3 separate regions of the Homo sapiens genome follow, and all the other regions are linked to region 1. Evidence: promoter capture Hi-C in 16 types of primary human blood cells and fetal thymus (Javierre and others, 2016). All regions are on one chromosome and are shown on one strand. The core of a region is centred on a gene start or on the middle of the fragment in contact, and the rest is flanking DNA. Distances in the headings are between cores, read along the strand shown.

Region 1 (2,592 bases), core at 65-2,564:
AAGTCAGGAGTTCGAGACCAGCCTGTCCAACATGATGAAACCCCGTCTGTACCCAAAATACAAAAATTAGCCGGGCATGGTGGGTGTGCCTGTAATGCCAGCTACTCCGGAGGCTGAGGCAGAAGAATCGCTTCAACCCAGGAGGCAGAGGCTGCAGTGAGCCGAGATGTCACCATTGTACTCCAGCCTGGGCGACAGAGAAATACTCAGTCTCAAAAAAAAAAAAAAAAAGAAGAAGAAGAAGAAAAAGAAAAAATGTAAATAAAAAGGAGAAAGTAACAGATCTCTTTTACAAATGTGCTGGGACAACTAACTGGATATCCATATGGAGAAGAGTAATGTTGTATTCCTATCTCACACAAGCAAATTTAGTTTGTTTATTTATTTTTAGAGAGGGAGTCTGGCTCTGTCGCCCAGGCTGGAGTGCAGTGGCTCGGTCTCGGCCCACTGCAAGCTCCACCTCCCATGTTCACCGCATTCTCCTGCCTCAGCCTCCTGAGTAGCTGGGACTACAGGCGCCCGCCACCACGCCCGGCTAATTTTTGTATTTTTAGTGGAGACGGGGTTTCATCGTGTAAGCCAGGATGGTCGCGATCTCCTGACCTCGTGATCCGCCCGCCTCAGCCTCCCAAAGTGCTGGGATTACAGGCGTGAGTCACCGTGCCCGGCCTAATAAAAATTTTATTTTAAAAATTTAAAAAAGAGAGAGACTGCGGGAGGGAATGTTACATTGTCGCGCAGGCTGTCCTGGACCCCCAGGCTGAGCGATCCTCCCGCCGCTGCTTCCTGAGTAGCTGGGACCTCAGGCTCCCACGCCCGCATCCCTGCTGTGTTTAAGCAGCAGGTGGTGACCTCACTCCTCCCTGGCCTGAGCACTCCGTCTGGCATCCCAGGCTGTGGCCCTAGGGATGTCTCTGAAGCTGAGCACTGGGTGGACTCTCCCTCCTGAGTGAATGGAGAATAGAAAGGGAGAAGATTTCTATACTGTCCTGTGGGCCATCAGCATGAAATCCTACGTTCCGCCCAGAAAGGGCTTTGCATTTTACATTCTAGTTTGCATCCTCCTTCCAGACTATTCCAGGGCTTTTGAATTATCCGTCTGCCTTCCTGGGGGCTCTCGCCGCCAAAACCCGGAGAACGGGTTGGGAGGAGGCTGAGAGATGCACAGGTCCCGCTCCGGCCCCGCCCTCTGCGGGTTCTAAAGGGCAAGGTCTCGCCGCTTCGCGCCCCGCCCACACCTCACCCGGGCCCCGCTCGCCTCCTCGTTGGCTCCACCCAGGCCTGGTTTCTGTCCTGCGCGCGCAGATTCGCGCAGACCAGGAAGTGGATCCCGTGGAATGACGGTCACGCCGCGGCGGGCGGTGAGTTTTGCTCTGTGTGGTGTTAAGTCTGAGCTTCCCAGGTCCCCGGCACTTCTGTACATGGGATGTGGGGTCCCCATAGACCTGGAAGTTCTCGCCTTTCTTCCTTCACTCAGAGCAAATGGAGATGTTCTACTGGGAGTCCGGAAGCCCCTTCTTTTTAGGTTTAAAGTCGCCCTGAGGCTGGTCCCGTCCCGGGTCTTTCTGCCATAGGGCAATGTATACGTTTCCTATCGCGTAGTTTTCCTGCTCAAAACCGTTTTTTGACTCCTTCCGCACGGCTCTTTTTAAAGTCCTCACCCTAGAGGTGTATTCCCACCCTGTGCGCCTCCCAGCCTTACTCTCCTGGGTTCCTGGAGCACAGCGCGGCGACCCCAGTCCCGGGAAGGCTGCGTTCTGTGGTCCTGGGATCCTGCGGATCCCACCCTTGTCCGAAGGCGTCGTCGCTCCCCACCTCCCTCCTCCTCTTGCTGGGCCCTGCTGCTCCCCAGATCTCCCCTCCGCAGTCACCGCGTCCCCTGAGCCCTCGTTGGAGAGGTGCCTGGGGCTTGTCCTGTGACGCGGGGTGTTCTTGCCCGCCCAGCTCCAGCACTTGGAAAATGCGCTTCTCCGAGATGCAGGCGTCTTACTCCAAACCCTCTTGTGATCGTGTGGGCCAAAGGGATCAGGAGACAGAGAGAGGGACTGAGAGAGCAGTAGAAAACCTGAGACAGAGAAAAGAAGAATGAGAAAGACCCATAACAGATGGCAAAGTAGAGGATGGGTGAGGGATTTGCCAAGAGACAGCAAAAGTGATAAAAGATAAGAAAGCAGGAGGAGAAAAGCAACTGGAGAAATGTAGAGAAAAGCTAGATGTACAGAGAGATGAAGGACAGCAAGGTAGGGAGAGGGGCAGAAATGTGGAGGCTCATCAGAGTGAGGGAGAGGAGGAGGGATGTGGAGCCGGGTCAGACAGAGCAGAGTGGTGCTGGTGGCAAGGAGAACAGAGGGAGAAGCACAGCGGGGAGGACACCTGGGGATCTGGGGTGCCAGATTGGGTCCAGGGGGTTATAACAGAGAAGAGAGAATTTAACAGGGAGAGCAGAGGAGGCGCATAGATGGGAGAAGAGGCAGAAATCTATGGAGATTGAGGACGATCTAAAGATTGGGGAGAAGGACCAACAGGAGGTTAAATAAGTTGCAAGGATGGAGCCCAGCTAATTTTTGTATTTCTAGTAGAGATAGGGTTTCA
Region 2 (2,592 bases), core at 34-2,533, 870 kb after region 1:
CTTTCTCTTAAACTTAGATCTATGATCTATTTTGAGTTAACTTTTGTGTATGGTTTGAGGGTCCTAACTCATTTTTCTGGATGTGGATATCCAATTATCCCAGTGCCGCTTGTTGAAAAGACTATTCTTATTGAATTGTCTTGGCACTTTTGTCAAAAACTCTTAACAATATTTTTATACTCTCAATTCTGGCTCTGCTCTTCCCATTGGCACCTTTACTAAAAGTGGCCTTTCTAGGAGGCCCAATTCCTTTAGTCTGTCGTGGCCAGGCTCACATCGTAATTCATTCTCAAAATCTCTTTTCTCTCCTCTCCTCTCCTCTTTTCTCTTCTTTTCTCCTCTTTTCTCTTCCTTCTCCTCCTCCTCTTCCTCCTTCTTCTTCTTCTTTTTTGTAAATAATAATCATTTTTTCGAGGCCAGGCGCGGTGGCTCACACCTGTAATCCCAGCACTTTGGGAGGCCGAGACAGGCAGATCACGAGGTCAGGAGGTCGAGATCATCTTGGCCAACATGGTGAAAGCCAGTCTCTACTAAAAATACAAAAATTAGCTGGGCGTGGTGGCGCGTGCCTGTAGTCCCAGCTACTTGGGAGGCTAAGGCAGGAGAATCGCTTGAACCAGGGAGGCAGAGGTTGCAGTGAGCCCAGATCTCGCCACTGCACTCCAGCCTGGCGACAGAGCAAGACTCCGTCTCAAAAAAAATTATAATTTTTTTCTTTCTTCACCACCCGCCCCCCCGAATACCTGCTATTTTTCTGTTCTTAAAAACCGCTTCCTGCAAGCTAATTTTCGCCAGACGCTTTCCCGTGGGTGTCTGCCTACCTGATGTGTTGCCTTTTCCCTTTCTACCTGATCTGTTACCTTTTCCATTTCCAATTCATTCTCTGGGATACCTACACCTGGCTGCACTGTTACTTGTCTTTTTCAAAACCTTTTTTTTTAAATTTAACAAAGTGGATGGAAAAGCGCTAAAGGCAATTTAGCTTGCCCCATATTTGCCTGATAAAGCCTGAGTCTCTGAAAATCTGCCCCCTTTCGCAAGACTTTAAGTGCCAGGAAACGAGGCGATTTCAGTGACTTCTCTTCTTCCCTGGCTCCTGGCTCAAAAACCTGCCACTGCCTTCTGTGCGTCCAATTTTCAAACATGGCTGCCGTCAGGAGCCACGGCTATGGGCGCGGCCATTTTACAGAGTAGGAAATGCCGTAAATGCGCTTGTCCTTGCTCTTTTAAACATTTTAGGTTCTCCTCGGCCGCCGTAGGTGGACCATAAACCCGTGCGAGGACTCCAGAAGTAGGAGCAGTTTACGGAAGTGTAACGTTGAGGCCCTTCTTGTGTATCTGGAGAAAATAGAGGTCAGTGTGTGGTTTTGTCCCTGAAAGTTTTTTGTCCTAGTTCAGGTTTTGTCTCAGTGGAAGGTTTGGGAGATCTGAGGACGTGGTGTACCCTGGACCACATAGTTTTTGGCAGGAAGACTGGGGAGCGCCGGGGTATAGGCATTTGGGAGGTACCTGGTGGGAGTCTGTGATCCCCCTGTCTGTGGTCCGCGTGCCTTTGGTGTGAGTACAGTGACTAAGGGTCTGTAGTGATCAACGGCCGTGTCCTAACTGTCAAGGTATGGATCACTCTGCTTGTAAAGGATGGAGGTGGCGATTAGGATCGATGCGGCGTCTGCTTCGGGTTCAGGATTTAATTTGGAACTCAGTGATGTTGGAGTCTGGGAGGATGTCCATCGCTGTAGAGTGTCTGGTCCGTGGTTCGGATGAGTAAGAGGCATGGGGCCAGTGTCTGTGGTACAAAGGCTTGTGAGGGCTGAAGCTTTCGAGACTTTGGAGCCCTGGGTCCTGGGTTGAGGTTCGAACCTCGGTTACTGGGGCAAAAGGCGACACAGCCCCCAGCATTAGTTCGAAACCATATATCTACTCTTCTGATCCTTGGGGTGGCTATTTACAGATCGGGGGGTCAAGTTCAGTCATACCCTCCGATTATATATTGTCTATGGCTGCAAAGGCAGCGGTTGAGTTGTTGTGACAGAGACCTCGTGGCCGGCAAAATCGAAAATGTTGCCAACCTCTGCATTCACTTCTTTTATTTTTTATTTATTTTTTTTATTTTTTGAGACGGAGTTTCACTTTTGTCTCCCAGACTGGAGTGCAATGGCGCGATCTCGGCTCACTGCAATCTCCGCCTCCCGGGTTCAAGCGATTCTCCTGCCTCAGCCTCCTGAGTAGCTGGGACTACAGGCCCACGCCACCACGCCCGGCTAGTTTTTGTATTTTTAGTAGAGACAGGGTTTTACCACGTTGGGCAGGTTGGTCTCGAACTCCTGACCTCAGGTGATCCGCCCACCTTGGCTTTCCAAAGTGCTGGGATTACAGGCGTGAGCCACCGCGCCCGGCCTTCACTTCTTAATATATAGTGAGTGTTGCTTGCCCGCCTTATATTCACACTTTCTTAACAGAATCTCCATTTCGTGAAGTATTCATCCCTGTGGCAAGGCGACCCAAATCCCAGTTTCTTAGTAAGGCCTTGTTGGTCTTAGCCAATCTTGCTGGTTCCAATTGCCATTGCTAGTGATAGGTTTGACATGGAAA
Region 3 (2,592 bases), core at 61-2,560, 850 kb after region 1:
CAGAGTGGACCTTGCCTCAAAAAGAGACAAAAAAAAAACAAAAAAAAAGAAAAACTCTCATATACCAAGGGTGAGAAGAGCAAATGGAACACGAACTTGACTCTGAAAAATAGTTTGACAATTTCTCTGTATATTTATATACTGATACCTATATCACACACATAGATTCACACAGGCATTTCCTTTCTCTCATTCTTCTAATATAGGAAGTTTGGTTGGATTTATATTTACAGTTCAGCATTGCCATGACTTTGCACATACTATTCGCGGTTGGCACACGTAGTATAACGTGATCTCCTTCTTAACCTTTCTTTCTTTTGTTTTTTTTTTGAGATGGAGTTTTGCTCCTGTTGCCCAGGCTGGAGTGCAATGACGCCATCTTGGCCCACAGCAACCTCCGCCTCCCGGGTTCAAGCGATTCTCCTGCCTCAGCCTCCCGAGTAGCTGGGATTACAGGCATGCGCCACCATGCCTGGCTAATTTTGTATTTTTAGTAGAGACAGGGTTTCTCCATGTTGGTCAGGCTGGTCTCGAACTCCCGCTCTCAGGTGATCCGCCCACCTCGGCCTCCCAAAGTGCTGGGATTACAGGCGTGAGCCACCGCGCCCGGCCTCTTTCCCAACCTTTTTTTTCTCACTGAAGTGGTCCTGTTCCCTTAATTTCTGGCCACTTCTCCTGAGTCCAGCCCTCATATTTGGCTCCACCTGGGTCCCAGGCTCTCCCCTCCGCCTTGGGAACTATACTTTCTGGCTTTTACTGGCTTTTCCCCATGCCTTTCACCCAACATAATTTTGGCACGTTCCAACCGTTTTCATTACCTAGTCTGTGACTGCTACCCCTGTTCCGTCAGCGTAGCTAACAGCCCTCTTCTGCGTTCAAAAGGCGCTTCAAGCTACTTTGTTAGAAATCTGGCTTTGGCCGAAGTGTCCCCTCTCGGCCGGTTCTCCTTTTCCCTCACAAGGAACTGTTTCCTAACCTTTGTACAAAGTGTAAACGTCGCGGCCATCTTAGCCTTCTATTCAGCTGCTGAAAGGGATTTACCTCCACGCCATTTTTGTCTTGTGTAAACTGGAGCCTCTGTATATGGACCCGTATTTATGAAGGGTTGAGGTGCCAGGAAATGGGACAGTTTCAGTGCTCTTTCATCTTCCCGGCCATCCCCGGTCACCCCCGGTCACCCCCGGTCACCAGCGCCAAAACGCGCCCTTTGCCTTGTGTACGTCAGATACTCAAAGATGGCGGCCCCCATGGAGCCAAGGCGACGAGGGCGCGGCCATCTTGCATCTGCGCAAACGCTGGGAACGCCTCCGACCCTGGATAGTCGCCGTCAGGCACTGAGGAGGCCGAGAGATGAGGCCGGAGCCCACCAAGTTCTGGGAAGTAAGTTCAGTCACTGGGTGGTCGCTGTGGTGACGGGGGAGGAAATTCTGTCCGTGGCTGGGCGTGTTCGTGGACAGTGGTGATGGACTGGTATCTGTCGGCGCCAGCGTTTGGCGACGCCAGTGGAATTCTTTCAGGAGCTTAGCGTGGGTCCGATTCCTATCGCAGGGGAACTACAAGAGGTCCGTGATAGGGTGTGTGTGTGTGTGATCGGGGTACCTCTGGGACCAGTCACAGGGTCCTCGTGTAGTTTGTGGTTAAAGATCTCTAGAGATCCGCTACTGAGTGCCCAAGTCACATTCTGGTGTCTTTGGTGTTGTCCTTTGGCGGGGCTCAGTGATTGCGAACTGGAGGGTTTGTTTTGTCAGCGAATCGGTTTATGGTTCAGGTTTTGTTTGGGACTAAATGATTGAGGAACTGTCTTGGGGGTTAAGGTACGGAGGTTTCTGATCCAGGTTTTGGAATTAATCCCGGTGGCGGTGGTGGTAGCGCCACAGATTCCGATGTGGGCTGCAGCTCTGGAGGCCTGGGAACCATGGCAGGTGATGGGTTAGCCCCAGCCCTGGCTGCTGGAACAGAATTGATGCTCATTAGCATTCCCCTTCTGCCCAAGACCCTTCTCCACGACTGGTTTTTAAATCCCCTTTGGCACCTTCCATCACCCCTTGGTCTTGAATCCTCAGAAATGGAAGTTTTTGGCGAGATCAGTCATCTAGCATACCTAAAAGTAGTATGTTTTATATTTAAGATGCGGCTTCTACCCTTTGTCCTGCAAGTTTCCAGCGTATCCTCTTGGATATTTCTTTTCAGGTTCTTTCTGACACAAGTAAGATAACATCTCTGCCATGGTAAGCTCGGTTACTCAAAGATAACCTTTGTCAAATTTTCAGAATATTTCAATTTTAGACGTGTATGTTATGTGCTTAATATTCATAATTCAGATAAATTATGTAAATGGTACTATTATCTTTTTCGCTTTATATTATGTAATAAACATTTAGAAGTTGTTTTTACTGTTTGAGCCGGTGGTACTATAAGTGCATTCACATTAAGTTTATGCGTACATTTGGATAGAAGTGAAATGTTTTAAAATGTTTAGGTATTATTTTTAGGAACATTTTATGATTATCCATTTATCCATGAATTTTGTTTTTCCTGCCTTTAATCTTCAATCTAGACTATTACTTTTATTGCAGTGTATTGCTTTCTGAC

Evidence for each region. The method cuts DNA at HindIII sites, captures the fragments that hold promoters and counts their contacts. A CHiCAGO score of 5 or more calls a contact.
Region 2: a contact is called between the fragment with the promoter of ZNF350 here and the fragment with the promoter of ZNF468 in region 1, in 12 of 17 cell types (total CD4 T cells, naive CD8 T cells, naive B cells and 9 more). The highest score is 16.3, in total CD4 T cells.
Region 3: the fragment with the promoter of ZNF615 here is called in contact with the fragment with the promoter of ZNF468 in region 1 in 9 of 17 cell types (neutrophils, naive CD4 T cells, total B cells and 6 more); the score reaches 13.5 in neutrophils.

Annotation. Positions count from the first base shown.
Region 1 is chr19:52,856,341-52,858,932 of GRCh38, reverse strand. ZNF468 (zinc finger protein 468) reads left to right here and starts at 1,314. Exons shown (of 4, transcript NM_001008801.2): 1 at 1,314-1,361. RefSeq lists an enhancer at 1,636-1,715. The HindIII fragment of the contact is 10,660 bases long and covers 1-2,592 here.
Region 2 is chr19:51,985,531-51,988,122 of GRCh38, reverse strand. It overlaps ZNF350 (zinc finger protein 350), which reads left to right and starts at 1,283. Exons shown (of 5, transcript NM_021632.4): 1 at 1,283-1,353. RefSeq lists enhancers at 1,117-1,356, 943-1,818. The HindIII fragment of the contact is 6,623 bases long and covers 1-1,818 here.
Region 3 is chr19:52,006,929-52,009,520 of GRCh38, reverse strand. ZNF615 (zinc finger protein 615) reads left to right here and starts at 1,310. Exons shown (of 7, transcript NM_001199324.2): 1 at 1,310-1,380; 2 at 2,191-2,228. It overlaps LOC124904755 (a long non-coding RNA gene), which reads right to left and starts at 1,223. Exons shown (of 2, transcript XR_007067321.1): 1 at 1,042-1,223. RefSeq lists enhancers at 800-879, 940-1,549. The HindIII fragment of the contact is 6,775 bases long and covers 1-2,592 here.